Regions from separate parts of the Homo sapiens genome. Here region 2 is linked to region 1. The links are contacts of gene promoters, found by promoter capture Hi-C in human tissues and cell types (Jung and others, 2019). All regions are on one chromosome and are shown on one strand. Each heading gives the region's core, a stretch centred on a gene start or on the middle of the fragment in contact. The rest is flanking DNA. Distances are from core to core; before and after follow the strand shown.

Region 1 (7,046 bases), core at 3,222-5,721:
AGGTGAGTGTGGAGGTGGCACCGTGCAGGATTCCGGCTCACGGCTATTCGGCCGTGGGTCCCTGGCAGAAGTTCCGGTTATAGAAGTGGTGGTTGTCCCTGGTCAGGGCCATGCCCAGCTGGGCCCAGAAGCTGCGCTGACCACTGGGCTGGTGGGGCCAGAGGAGGACACTCTGGCGGCAGAGGCGCTGGCGCAGCCGCACGTAGCGGGAGCGGCGGCCGTCAGGGCTCAGGATCACCAGCACCACGACGTCCTTGCGGTCCTCCAGCAGGCGCTGCTGGGCCAGCAGGAAGCTGGCGCGCAAGAGACCACTGACCCGGTCCGTGTGGGCCAGCACAAACAGCGTCTTGCGGCTGCCATAGACCGAGGCCCACAGGTTCTCAAAGAGGGTTTTGCCAGGCAGCCAGTCGCGTTCCTCCAGGCACAGGCGGAGTGCCCAGCGCCCACGGCACTCCTCCAGCTGCCCCCGAAGCTCGTTGTACACCCAGTCTGCCACTGCGCTCTGCGTTTTGTCGAAGACCACGAAGGCATCGTAGGGCAGGGCATCCTCATCTCGCCCACTTTGCCGCCCCCGCCAGGGAAGCCAGGCCAGGCACAGGTGGAAGCAGTACCAGAGGTCCCAGCCACAGAGGTGATGCAGCATGGGCACACCCAGGCCCAGAGCCACAGCCAGCAGCGAGAGGGCGAAACAGTCCCAGGAGAGGGCCTCATCCAGGCAGAGGCGCAGGTCCTGTGCAAAGATGCTGAGGCCCTGGAGCTGGCCCGGACTGCCACACTTCACCCGGCTGGGCAGACCGGGCACGGCAGCCTGCACCTCCAGCAGGAAGTCCATAAAGGCCGCCCCACAGGCGCAGTGCAGAGGGTTGGCGCTTACATCTAGTATTTGCAGGGCACTCGCCAGGGGCCCAAACCAGGAGTGGTCCACTGTCTTGAGGGCGTTGGCGCTAAGGTTGAGCTCTCGCAGCTCCTTGGCCTTGGAAAAGAAGCCGGGGGCCACGAAGCTGATGCTGTTGCAGCTGACATCCAGCCTCCGGAGCCGGGTGCCAGCAGGCAGGCTGCCATTGGTCAGGGCCTTCAGCTGGTTTCCTGCCAGGTCGAGGACTTCCAGTTTGGGCAGGAAGTGGAGGCTCCACCACTTAAAGAAGGCCAGGTAATTGTCACGGAGACGCAGCACCTGTAGGCTCTTGGGGAGGTTGCGCAGGGTTTGGGGCAGGAGGGTGTGCAGGCGGTTCTGGGACAAGTCCAGCCAGATCAAACCGCTCAGGCCTTGGAAGAAGTGCAGATAGAGGTCTCCCTCGGCCCACATATGGCCCAGTGCATTGCCGCTGAAGTCCAGGGCCCGCAGCGACGTACTGCAGAGCTGCTGGGACACTTGGCTGTGGATGTTGTTGTGGGCCAGGCTGAGGTGGCGCAGGGTGCGCAGGTGAGCCACGAAGCTGAAGTTGTGGCCCACGCCCTGCATGCCAAAGGGCTGGCTGTTGTAGCTGAGGTCCAGGGCCTCCAGTCGCGGTAGCTCCGTGAATGAGTGCTCGTGGTAGAGGTCCAGCTTATTGTGGGACAGGTCTAGCACCTGCAGACCGGTCAGCGGCAGGAACTGGGAGCCATTGACTGCCTGCGAGATGCAGTTGTGGCTCAGGCGCAGGCACTGCAGGTGCGAGAGCTGGGCAAACATCTCCGGCTGCACGGTCACCAGGTTGTTCCGTGACAGATCCAAGGTGAAGTTGAGGGTGCTGCAGTTGGGCCTGAAGTCTTCAGAGCTGGGAGTGTCCACTGGGGCCGGAGCAAGGTCCCCAGGCTGCAGCCAGACCTTCTCCCCTCCATCTGCCTCCCCCATGGTGGCTGTCAGCTCCGAAGCTCCGCTGATGCGGTTGTCCGACAGGTCCACGTAGCGCAGGCCAGGGAAGGCCCTGAAGATGCCGAGCTGGGCCTGGTTGATGAAGTTCATCTGCAGACGCAGAGTCTGGAGCATGGGCAGGCGGGCCAGTGGCCGGAGCGTGGTCTCATCGAGTGAGCGGAAGAAGATGCCGTGCATGTCCAGCTCCTTCAGGGCGACCAGGCTCCCGAAGGAAGGGGCCAGAGACAGGTGGGCAAAGGACACCCTCTTTTGGTAATTGAAGGACAGGTTAAGCTTGCGCAGCTGTGTTAGGCCCTGGAAGGCCTTGGTTTTAGTGATGCATTTGTAGAGGAAGTTCTCACTCAGGTCCAGCACTCGGAGGTTTCCCAGCCCACGGAACCAACTGGCATTCAGCCAGGAGAGAGAACTGTCCTTCAACACCAGGCCTTCAAGACGGCTCAGGTGGCTGAAGGTATCGGGATGTAGCTGGGGGAAGTGACGAGGGCACTCCATGCAGGGGTTGGGAGCGTGGTCGCAGCGGCGGCAATTTCCGCCCACATCGAGCACACGCAGGGCGGTCAGATTGGCCAGGTCCTCAGGCGCCAGTTTGACGATGCGGTTGTAGGACAACAGCAGATACTCCAGGCTGGAAGGCAGGTTGCGGGGCACCACAGTGAGGTTGTTGTACTTGAGTGACAGGTGGGTGAGGTTGCCCAGGCCAAGGAGGGCACCCGGGGCCACCTCCAGTGCCTGCCTGCAGGGGTTCTTGTAATAACAGTTGCCGTCCATGAATAGGAAGCGCAGGGCATGCAGGCCGGCGAGGCTGGCAGAGTCTAGCATCAGGATGTTGGTATGGCTGAGGGACAGGGATATGAGGGATTTGGGCAGCGCAGGCACAGTCATGATGTTGTTGTAGCTCAGGTTTAGCTCTTCCAGGGTGGGCACAGCCAAGAAGGTGCTGGGCTCGATGGTCATGTGGCAGGGGAAGTGCATGGGGCTGAGGCCAACCGGCGGGCAGTTCCACTTGAGGTTGAGATGCCGCAGGCTGGGCAGGTGGGCAAAGTCAGAATCATGGAGGTGGTGGATGCGGTTGGAGGACAAGGAAAGGCTGGTGACATTGCCACGGGGTGCTGCCATGGAGAAGTGGGGCACAGACTTCAGGAACAGCCAGTTGCAGTTCACCAGGCCGTGGGGCTGGAGCTCACAGGGTAGGAAGGCAGGCAAGGTACCCAGGGCCAGGGTCATGGCCAGCATGATGGCCTGCACCAGGAGAGACAGCGGGTGCAGGGCGCTGCGGCAGAAACCCTGTGGGGGTGGGAGGGCTGTGTGAGTGGCCGGCCCCCAGCTCTACCTCCACCCACTCCACTTCATGGGCATCTTCTAGCATCTTCCAACCCCTCTCTCCAAGCCCTACCTGCAGAAGTTCTTCCTGGCTGCCAAGCCCCATTCCCATCCCCCATGGCTTGTGGGGAACCTGAACTCAGTCTCAGACCCAGTCTTGGACTCAGAATTAGGCTTCAGAACCAGGACTGAGACCTAGAATCCAGACTTATGATCTACAGCTTTCACTTAACCAATCCCTGGCTATACCAGGCCAGGCAAGGTGGCCCACGGCCCCCCCTGGTCTCTCCCCGACTTTCCCTTCCTGCTCCTGAGCAAGGTGGCAGCTGGCTCCCTCCCCTCCAGCTGCCCTGAAATCCGCTCTCTGCCCTCCACCAGCCACCCCACAACCCCTTCCTTTTCCTTCGGCCAAGATTCAGGCAGGTGTGAGAGTCTCCCACTATGGCCCAGGCCGGCTGCCTCCCAGGGACCCTGGCCAGAGGGCACTGCACAGCTCCATCACTCTCTGCCTGCCTCACCTAGCCCGAGAGCCTTTGCCTTATGGGTCAGAACAGATGGAGAGAGGGGTGGCCTGCAAAGTGCCAGACAGAGCCAGCCCCAAGCTACAGGCCCAGTGAGACCCAAACCCAGGCTCCAGCCCCAGCTCCATCAGTGCCTCAGTCTCCTCGTCCCCTCTGGGGGTTTGGGTCTCATTGCTCAGAAGAGGGCTTCAGTGGCTGGGCACGGTGGCTCACACCTGTAATCCCAGCAGTTTGGGAAGCCGAAGTGGGCAGATCACCTGAGGTCTGGAGTTCAAGACCAGCCTGACCAACATGGAGAAACCCTGGCTCTACTAAAAATACAAAATTAGCCAGGCATGGTGGCGCAAGCCATAATCCCAGCTACTTGGGAGGCTGAGGCAGGAGAATCACTTGAACCCGGGAGGTGGAGATTGCAGTGAGCTGAGATCAAGCCACTGCACTCCAGCCTGGGCAACAAGAGCGAAACTCCGTCTCAAAAAAAAAAAAAAAGAAAAAAGAAGAGGGCTTCGGCTCTGAAGTCTTCAGGATTCAGTGAGTGTCCCCAGGGCCATGTGGGTGACAACCCGTCACTGTTGCTTGCAGCTGCCAAGCCCACTTCTTTCCCCACCCCTTCCCAGGATATCCCCTTCCCCAGGGGACTGAGAGCTGTTGTCCTACCATGCTGGGGGGCAGGGGCTTCTCCAGAGGGTCTGGCGGGCAGACTGGACAGCAGCTACAGGGAAGGATGCTTCACACTCGAGGTCCCTTCCCACAGGGGCAGCAGCGGCTCAGAGAATAGAGGAAGTAAGATTTTTATACCAGCCTAGTAGCTCCCCCTCCACTCCACCCTGCCCCCAGTGAGGAGGACAGGGTCCCATGAGTCAAAGGCCATTTGCATAGTCAAATGGCAGACAGCTCCTTCACCCCTTCCTCTTTCCACTCCCCTCTCAGACAGCCTACATCCCATGAGGGCCTCACACCTGTCCTCTACCAAGCCCAGGGAGGAGCTAAGGCCCAGAGCTCAGGCAGAGAGCAGGGAGAGATGGGAATTCTGGATAGCACCAGTAGCGGGTACACCTTGCTGGGCACTCCCCATTCTAAGAGGACACTTCCACCCTCAGGTCTTGGCTCCTGCACCACAGCTGGTGCCCTCAGGACAGCGGCTGCCGACTTGTCCTTTTCTGCCCTTGTAGGCACCATCTCCAGAGTTCTGCAGGGCCTCATGCGTGGAGGGCCAGGGTGTAGCTTGAGCAGGAGGCTAGGCTGCACCTGCCTTCACCACAGCCTTGCAACATCTTCCGGAAACAAGACCTCCTCCTCCACATTCCCAGAGCCCCTGGGGCCCCATCAGAGCACACACCACGTCACTCCAGATGGGGCTCCTAGAGGCCAGGTGTGTGCTGGCCCAGCAGGGCCGCCAGCCAGTCCTCCCCATCAGTTCTTCCCACTCTCCTTCTGATCTAGGTGAGGAGACTCAGATTCCTCGGGCCCAAAGCCTTGGGTGACCCCGGGCCCCTCAGCAAGTTCTGCTGGGTCCACCATGCTGAAGGGTGTGCCCACAGCCCACCGTCCCCATGTCCACCAGCCCCCATCCTCTCTCCTAGACCCATGCAGGTGCCACCTCCCTTCTGGCTGTCCTGCCCTGCTCTCTGCCCTCCAGGGGCTGGTCACATTCAGCCCCTAGAGGGAACTGTTCAAACCTAAGTCACACTAGGTCCCTCCTCTGCTCAGACCCCTCCCTGGCTGACTCTGGAGTCAAAGCCACAGTCCACAGATGGCCAACAAGGCCCTATGGGACCTGCCACCCGCTGTTCCCCTGAGTGCTCTCCAGGCCCACTGGCCTGCTTGCAGTTGACTGTGTAGCCCCTGGGCATTCTCCTGCCTCAGGGCCTTGGGATGTGCTGTTCCCTCTGCCTGAAAACTCCCCCAAGTCTCATATGACCCCTCCTTTGCCTCCATTATGTCTCTGCTCCCATGTCACCCTCTCAACAGGGCCATCCAGCCTTCTTACAAACCTCCCACCCCAGATCTGGCACTCCTGAGCTCCTTTGCCTGGTCTATGTTTCTCTTTGTCCTAACATTTTTTAACTGCTAGCACACCGGATCATTGATCTTTCATGGTTTATTGTATATCGTCTTATTCCCCTGCTGGAATGTCAGCTTCTTAAGGGCAGTGATCTTTTATCTGCATCCCCAGGATCCAGTACAGTGCCCAGCACATAGTAAGTGCTTGATATCTGCTGAATTATGTACACCCAGCAGTCAGCTCTGGGCAGGCACAGAGAGGGTATTTCTGAGTGAAGGCTGAATGAATGAATTAATGAATTGTTGCTGCTGGGAGGAGGCAAGGCTGCACATCTGCCAGCCTGCTCCCCCCAGGCCCACTCTGGGTGGTATCATGGCAGGCAGGCTCCATAGTGCCAGGCATCTGGCTGGCTCAGCAGCAGGGGGCGATGGCATCGTCTTCCTGCCCACCTGGGAGCCAATGTTTCGGCTGGGCAAGGACAAGCCTCCTCTGGGTCTTAGCTAGTCTGGCTCTCCTCTCTACAATTCTAGGGGCTTGAGCAGGGGCTCAGAAAGGCGCCAGGGATAGAATGTTGCCCTGAGCCAGGAAGGAGAGCAGTGCCCACTCAGTAGCTGGGCTGCAGGCATCAACCCCATGCTTCCACTCCTGCCTGCCTGGGGTGGAAGGCACCTGCATTCATTCCCTCCATCCACCTCTCAGAGGGATACACCAAAGCTCGGGCTCCTGTGGAGCCCCAAGCCTGAGACTTTCCCAGAGTCCCTTGGACCAGGGACCCAGACCCCCATACCCAGCAGTGGCCCTGCCTTCTTTGGAGGCAGAAAACCAGAGAGGCCAGTAAGCTGACAGAGGGGTCTGCACACACAGGTACAGACCCACGCACATGGACACACTCAGCTTGGAGACACCGATATCGATGTCCACAGAAAAACTTGTCCTGGCCTCAGCCCAGGGAGGCTGGGAAGCCTTCGAGGAGGAGCCCTTATCCCATGTGGGAGGCTGCATAAAGTCCCTCTCAGAGATCCTTGTCCTAATTCCCCAAACCTGCAAACACGTGACCCCAACACCCCACAGTGTGGCAAAAACGACTTCGCAGATGTGATTAAGTTACCCATCTTGACAGGGGTAGGTGGTGGGGGCAGGGAGGGTGAATGCAATTACAATGTCCCTTATGAAATGGAGACAGAGGGAGATTCGACTACAAAAGGCCATGGGAGCCCAGAGGCTGAGGAAAGCAGAATCAGAGATGTCACCTCTGGCTTTGAAGGTGGAGGAAGGGGCCCCAAGCCAAGGAATACAGCCAGAAAAGGCCAGGAGATGGGTTCTTCTGAGGGGCCCAGACACAGCC
Region 2 (7,046 bases), core at 1,313-3,812, 42 kb before region 1:
GGCATGAACCCGAGGGCGGAGCTTGCAGTGAGCAGAGATTGCGCCACTGCACTCCAGCCTGGGTGACAGAGTGAGACTCCATCTCAAAAAAAAAAAGAAAACCCCACCGTCTCAGCCCAAAATCTCCTTAAGCAACTTCAGCAGTCTCAGGATACAAAATCAATGTACAAAAATCACAAGCATTCCTATACACCAAAAATAGACAGAGAGCCAAATCATGAGTGAACTCCCATTCACAATTGCTACAAAGAGAATAAAATACCTAGGAATACAGCTAACAAGGGATGTGAAGGACCTCTTCAAGGAGAACTACAAACCACTGCTCAAGGAAAGGAGAGGACACGAACAAATGGAAAAACTCTTTTTAATTTAATAACAGCTGCAAAGCACCTATTTCCAAATAAGGTCATATTCACAGGTACTGGATGTTAGGATTTGAATATATCTTTACAACAACCCTAGGGCGTAGGGTTGCTGTAAGGATTTAACCACAGGCCTAGAACATGGTAAACTCTCAATAAATGGTAGCTTTAAAAAGAAGGGCAGGCTAAGGGAGGCTGAGGGAGCTCAGGCTGGCAGACTTTCCCTGCATGTGTCCACATACTCACACACGCACAGGAGGCAAAGGACCACCCATGGAATCCACCCAGGAGGGCCAGGACAGGGGACTCAGGGGCCTCAGCCTGCACTCACCTGCTCAGCAGAGCTGAGCTCAGGGCATAACGTCAGCTTCCTGGGCAGAAGAGCTGCCAAAATCAAAGCTTTGCTAGTCAGAAAATTCCTTGGGAATGTTGAGCAAGGCCACCACTGACATCATGTGCAAATTCGCAGACAGCCTCTGCACCTAAGGCTACTCAGACCCACAGCCTTGGCTCGATGGGGTGGCAGACTCTGTATGCCACCAGCACACCCACCCACAGGGCAGAGGGGTCAGGACATAGAATCAGACAGGCCCCAGGGACCCCAGTGAAGATTATAGGCAGCCATTCCCCACTCAACAGAGGAGAAGGTCAGAGCCAAGTCTGACATTCCCCCATCCCCTCTCCATAACACCCATGCATCTGGCAGTCAGACAGGCCTAAGCTAAACCTTTCCCCCCCAGCTACCCACCAGGGTCATCCCCAAGCCAGGTCAGGGCCAATGGAGGTTGGGGTGGAGAAGACAGGCTTGGCCCTATTTCCTGCCCAACTCAGAACCTTCTGGTTTCTGCCACAGGATGCCTTGCAAGCTTATCGGGGTCACTGTGGGCAGCTGGGTGAGCTAAGTTCATCTGTGCTGCCGTGACCTCTGTGCAGATGCATCAAGAACACAGAGTGCTCCGGGGTTAGGATGAGGGCAGCGCTGATAAGGTTCATGGAACCAGTGACAGAGCACACAGCTGCCCACAGAGTCACTCCCCTGTGCCCCAGCCTGGACACCTCAGCTCCCTCTCAACCCCTTCCCGAGGTGCTAGATGTATATGGGACCAGAAAGCCCCCTCTGTGTCCTCCTGTGTGAGAGCCCAGCTGCTTAGGTGTTTGTGACTCTGGGCACCTGTGGGCCTGAGATTATGTGTATCTGAGAGATATTCAGGGCGTGCATCTATGAATGTGACCAACAGGCTGCCCTGCCAGGGCAGGCAGGGGTACAAGAGTAGGGGTGGAGGAATTGGGGGATGGGAACAGGTTGCCCCACCAACATCTGGGGCAGGACCATTATGGGCAGAAGGGAGCAAAGGCCTGAGGTGCTCTTGAGGATTTGCAGGGTGGGTTTAAGGGACAGAAAAGTGAGTTGTGAGTGAATGTCAAAGAGGTCGGTGGGCCTTGTGGACTCCTGTAAGAACTTGGCTTCTACCTTGAGTGACAGTGAGCCCTGGGGGTGCTTTGAGCAGAGAAGGAACTTCACGCAGCTTAGCTTTTAAAAGATCACTCTGGCTGCTCTGAGATAGATCAGTGGTTTTCCAAGTGTGGTCCAACAGCAGCACCTGAGAACTTGCAGAAATGCAGATTCTCAGGCGCCCTGCTAAATCAGGACACCAGGGGCAGGGCACAGAGATGGCGTCACAGGAGCCCTCCAGGGATGGCTTATACCCCTCCAGCAGCCTTGCTGCAGGGCTCCTGGAGAACTCCAACCCCACCAGACCCCACCAGATAGCTGCTATGAGCAGAATGAGTTCTGTGGTCAGCTGCATGTGGGAAATGAGGCTCCTGCACTCACACCCCCTAAGTTCTCTCAACACACAGCTTTTTTTTTGTTTTTTCTCTCTTTTTTGAGACTGAGTCTTGCTCTGTCACCCAGGCTGGAGTACAGTAGCGCCATCTTGGCTCACTGCAACCTCTGCCTCCCAGGTTCAAGCGATTCTCCTGCCTCAGCCTCCTGAGTAGCTGGGATTACAGGCGCCCGCCATCACATGCTCAGCTAATTTTTGTATTTTTAGTAGAGATGGGTTTCACCATGTTGGCCAGGCTGGTCTTGAACTCCTGACCTTAGGCGATCCACCCACCTCGGCCTCCCAAAGCGCTGGGATTACAGGCTTGAGCCACCAAGCCCAGCCTAAACACACTGCCTTTTAAAGCTTCTCCAAATCCCACGAAAAAGAAACCAGGTCACCTTTGCTCAGGCCAAGTGAATTATATAATACCCTTTCTTAACTTACTTGACTATGGAATATTTTTTCCAGAGACCACTTCATGAACATAGACCACACTGAAAAATGCTACTTCAGGTACATTTTGGTTTATTTCTCCAGGCTCCTACACTGCGCCTAACACAGAGTGACCACCCAACAACTGCCCTTTGAAAAATGCATGAAGCTCCCCCATGGTGACCCTGATGAAATTCAGGTGATTTATAAACCAACTGACCTTCCCCCAAGCTCTGGAAGGACTTGGCTTCAGCACCTCATACACTGACTCCCTGGGCTCCCCTGGGAGTCCAGGGGTCTGGAGGTTCCAAGCACAAGAAGGGGAAGAGGGAGGGGTTGCCGCCTTGGCTTTCACGGAACAATGACCTCTCTGGTGCTCAGGGTCCCCACCCTGCCTGAGCTCAGGGCCAAGTCACAAGGCAGCTTCCGTAGAAGACTTTTTTTTTTTTTTTTGCCCCGAGAACCCCCCACTCAGCCCAGATGATGTGTTGTTTGTAGAAAGCTTAAGTGGGTCCCAGGAGGTCAGTCCAGCCAGCACCTGCCTCCAGGCTGGGCAGCCACTCCTCTGGTCCTTGCACACAGCCGGGCATCAGGCCTGCCTCAGGGGCCCCTTTGAGGCCTCAAGAACAACTGAGCTCTCCTTTGTTCCCAAGGAAATCTCAGTGGAGGCCCTTTCATTAGTGAGAGGCACCTGGCCATGAAGTTCAAATAGACTCAGAAGCCCGAAGGTCCAGGAAATGCCAGAGGGGCCACAGAATCACAGCTTTCCTCATCACGGGTGCCAGAAGAGCCTTGAAACCACCAGGTCTATGCCTGTATTAACAGATGGAGAATATGTACAACTATTATACATCAATAACATTTTTTTTAAAAACAGGTGGAGAATCTGAGGTCCAGAAACAAGACATGACTGTTATGGTCACACAGCTTGGCTCTCATGCCCTTGGGATCTCCCTGGTCCACGCTCTGGTCAGTTTAATAGTTCTCAGGGGTGTACAGAGCCATCGGGACAGACCTGAGCAGGATGGCCACAGAGGAGGCAGGCAGAGGGAGGGCCAGTCAGGGGCTCTTGATAGTCCTGACTTCATCAGGAATGAGCGCAGGGGAAGGGATCACGATCCCAGGGAGCCAGGCTGCACTTGCGGTAGGGAGGTGGAGGTGAGGGGTGAAGCAGAGCAACCCTGCGGCCCTGCACAGCTCAGCCCGTGTGTGTGACCCTATGTATGATGACGTCCCAATCATGGCACACCATGGCTGCACATGTGTGCCTCTGTGACAAGGTCACAGCCCCCGAGGCACGCTGTGACTACACCATGTATCTAACTGTCACAAGGTGCTGCTATCCCTATGACCAGAGTGGTTGGCCATGTGGCCATGTGTGAAAGGGTGTTTGTGACCCTGGGCAGCTGTGGGCCTGGGATTCTGCATGTATTTGAGAGACCTTCAGGGTGTGCACGTAGGAATGTGACCAGCAGACCACGCTGCCAGACACTAGGCCCTAAGAACTTCCAAACTTGAAATGTCACTTCAGAGTGGCCAGCAGTCTTCTGTCTGCTAAGACACAGGCAGGCTGTGGAAAACTATTTTCTAGATGTTGTTACACAAATATAGAGTGAGAGCCCTTCTGCTGCACAGCTATGGTCATCTTCTGAGGTGGTGGTCAAGGAAGAGAGCGGGAGAGGGACCAGGAGGGGGAACGAGGGTCTGACTGCAGCCTCCACCCCAGCTGAGCTTCAAGGGGCTTCAGTTGACTCCTGACCACACCGTCCACAGACCAGGCTGAGATCAGAGGTGGCCTATCCCAGGGTGAGCTTAGGGAGAGCCATTGGAGAGGATGACATAGACACCCGGGAGGGCCCATGGGAGCTTGCGTATGCATGGGTGGCAGTGGAGTGGCAGAGTGTCGGGACATGGACACTTACAGATCTCCCCAAGGAAGGCTCCTGAAGATGCTCAACTGGGCCCCTAGTAAATGGCCTTGCTCCATTTCCCCTGGCCTTCTCCAGGCCATCTGCTGACCAGCCATCTGACCCTAGCTTTCCACACTCACCTCTTTGCTGACACAACCTGCCCACAAATGGCCCCATCTCTGGGCCCACAAACGGCCCTATCTCTGGGGCCTAAGGACCCACCCACACACACTCACTTGCACATAGTTCACAGATAATCCTCATTTATTTACCCACTCCATTCATTCATGCATTTATTCATATGTTCATTCATTCATTCAACAAATGCTCATTGGGTACCTCTTGTGAGCCACCAGCCCTGCTGAACTTCTCCAACTCCCCAGGTCAGAGAAATGAAGGCACAGTCCCAGTGGACCCCGGTGTGAGTAGCTCAGCAAAGAGGAACCTGGAGGCTGAGTGGGCTGATGGCCGTTAGCTAGGGGGAAGCACTGAGGGGTGTCACAACCAGGCCACTGCATCAAGCTGGATGGGCTTTGGAGATTGGGTAAACACTGTGGCTGCCTTCCCCCAACCCCAGGCTGGATCTGGCACCTAATGAGTCGGGGTTGAGTCCCAAGGCTTCAGAGCTGTCTTCTAATCCCAAAGCCTACAGAACAAGACCCATCCCTTGGATGGTTCTCAGGGCCCCCTCAGTTGGGCCCAGATTGCCTTAGCTGCCCCCATGCCCCCTTCCCACCAGCTACACCAGATAATGTAAGTTCCCTGAAGGCTTGGAGGACTATGGCCTTCCAGCTCCTCCGCATTGCCCCCTCCCAAGGGGGCCTGGAGCCCAGCTTCCAAGGCTCCCCATATCCCCCCAACTTCTCTGCCATGCCTCCTTGCTCACATTTCAGTCATGATAATAGTAATCATAATTAGATCTATCCAGCACCTCCTTGGCACTGGGCATGGATGGGTGATTATTTCCAACCCTCCCATATTCCAAAGCATAGTGGCCAGAGCTGGAGGTGACCAAGAGTGTTGCACTAGATCCCCCAGCCTGGGGCACTGGTCAGCTCCTGGCCTCCTCCACCCCAAATCATCGCCAGCTTGGCTCCTTCTCCTTCAGGACTCACCCTAAACATCCTCTCCTCAGAGAGGCCTCTCCAAGCCTCCAAACAGAGCAGCCACTGTCCTTGTCACTCAGAGCACCATGTGAGCTCTCACCCTCACAAGATTATGTGTCTGGATGGCGTGTCCTTCTGGACATCTGTCTCCCCCACCAAAGTGTCCACTCCGCGAGAATAGGGACTACATCTACCTTGTTCATAGCTGCCATCCCGGAACCTAGTTCAACACTAGGCAAACAGTAGGTACACAGTAAGTATTTGCTGAATAAAAAAAGCCTATTGATCCATTTCCTGGAAGCTGCCTCACTCCATCAAGGATCTGAGGCCACTCACAAGAACACACTCAATTCAAGAGGAGAGAAAAAGAAAAAAAAACATAAAGTTGGAATAAAAGATTCTGACCTGGCCGGGCGCGGTGGCTCACCCCTGTAATCCCAGCACTTTGGGAGGCCGAGACGGGGATCACGAGGTCAGGAGATCAAGACCATCCTGGCTAACGTGGTAAAACCCCGTCTCTACTAAAAATACACACACAAAAAATAATTAGCTGGGCATGGTGTGGGGCGCCTGTAGTCCCAGCTGCTCGGGAAGCTGAGGCAGGAGAATGGTGTGAACCCGGGAGGCGGAGCTTGCAGTGAGCCGAGATCGTGCTACTACACTCCAGCCTGGGCAACAGAGAGAGACTCCGTCTCAAAAAAAAAAAAAAGATTCTGACATTTGACCTGGTGGTTTTGTTTCTTCTTTTTTTTTTTTTGAGATGGAGGAGTTTCACTCTGTCACCCAGGCTGGAGCACAATGGCGTGATCTCGGCTCACTGCAACTTCCGCCACCCGGGTTCAAGCAATTCTCCTGCCTCAGCCTCCAGAGTAGCTGGGATTATAGGCGACTACCATCATGCCTGGCTAATTTTTGTATTTTTAGTAGAGACACGGTTTCACCATGTTGACCAGGCTGCGTTTTGTTTCTAAATACCCCACAGAAGTCCTCACCCCACATAAGGAAGCAGGTTCAAGGACACTGATAGGAGTAACCCATTGGAAACTACCAAATGAACAGTAAGAGGCTAGACAAGTGAATCATGGTGCATCAGCACAGCGGAATACTATGCGGCTGTCAAAAAGGATGCAGCCCTCTTCAAGGTGTAGTATTCAATGCAAAAAGCAAGGAGCAAACAAGAAAGACTTTTTTATATGTTCAGTGCTGGACTTGTAGTAGGTGAGCAACTGATAAATGTTGAATGAATAAGTAGAATCTTTCTGAAAAGACCTATGAGAACTCAGGAGCAGTGGTTGTGTATGGAAAGAGACCTGGATAAGGGAAATCTCTTTTACTCTGTTACACTATTTGCATTATCATATGCAAATATCTATTCAAATAAATAAGCTTTTGTTATTTAAAAAACCA

The links. Contacts are between HindIII fragments. The study calls those that stand out against the background at their distance.
Region 2: a contact is called between a fragment that was not itself captured here and the fragment with the promoter of TLR9 in region 1, in 2 of the 25 tissues and cell types used here (adrenal gland and liver).

Annotation. Positions count from the first base shown.
Region 1 is chr3:52,221,174-52,228,219 of GRCh38, forward strand. TLR9 (toll like receptor 9) reads right to left here and starts at 4,472. Exons shown (of 2, transcript NM_017442.4): 1 at 4,354-4,472; 2 at 1-3,139. The coding sequence starts at 4,356. The coding sequence ends at 44. RefSeq lists enhancers at 4,252-4,351, 4,604-5,105, 4,862-4,951, 5,106-5,605. The HindIII fragment of the contact is 19,187 bases long and covers 1-7,046 here.
Region 2 is chr3:52,181,023-52,188,068 of GRCh38, forward strand. No RefSeq gene overlaps it. Among named protein-coding and RNA genes, the nearest start is that of ALAS1, 14 kb to the right of the region's middle. RefSeq lists an enhancer at 3,497-4,332. The HindIII fragment of the contact is 5,026 bases long and covers 50-5,075 here.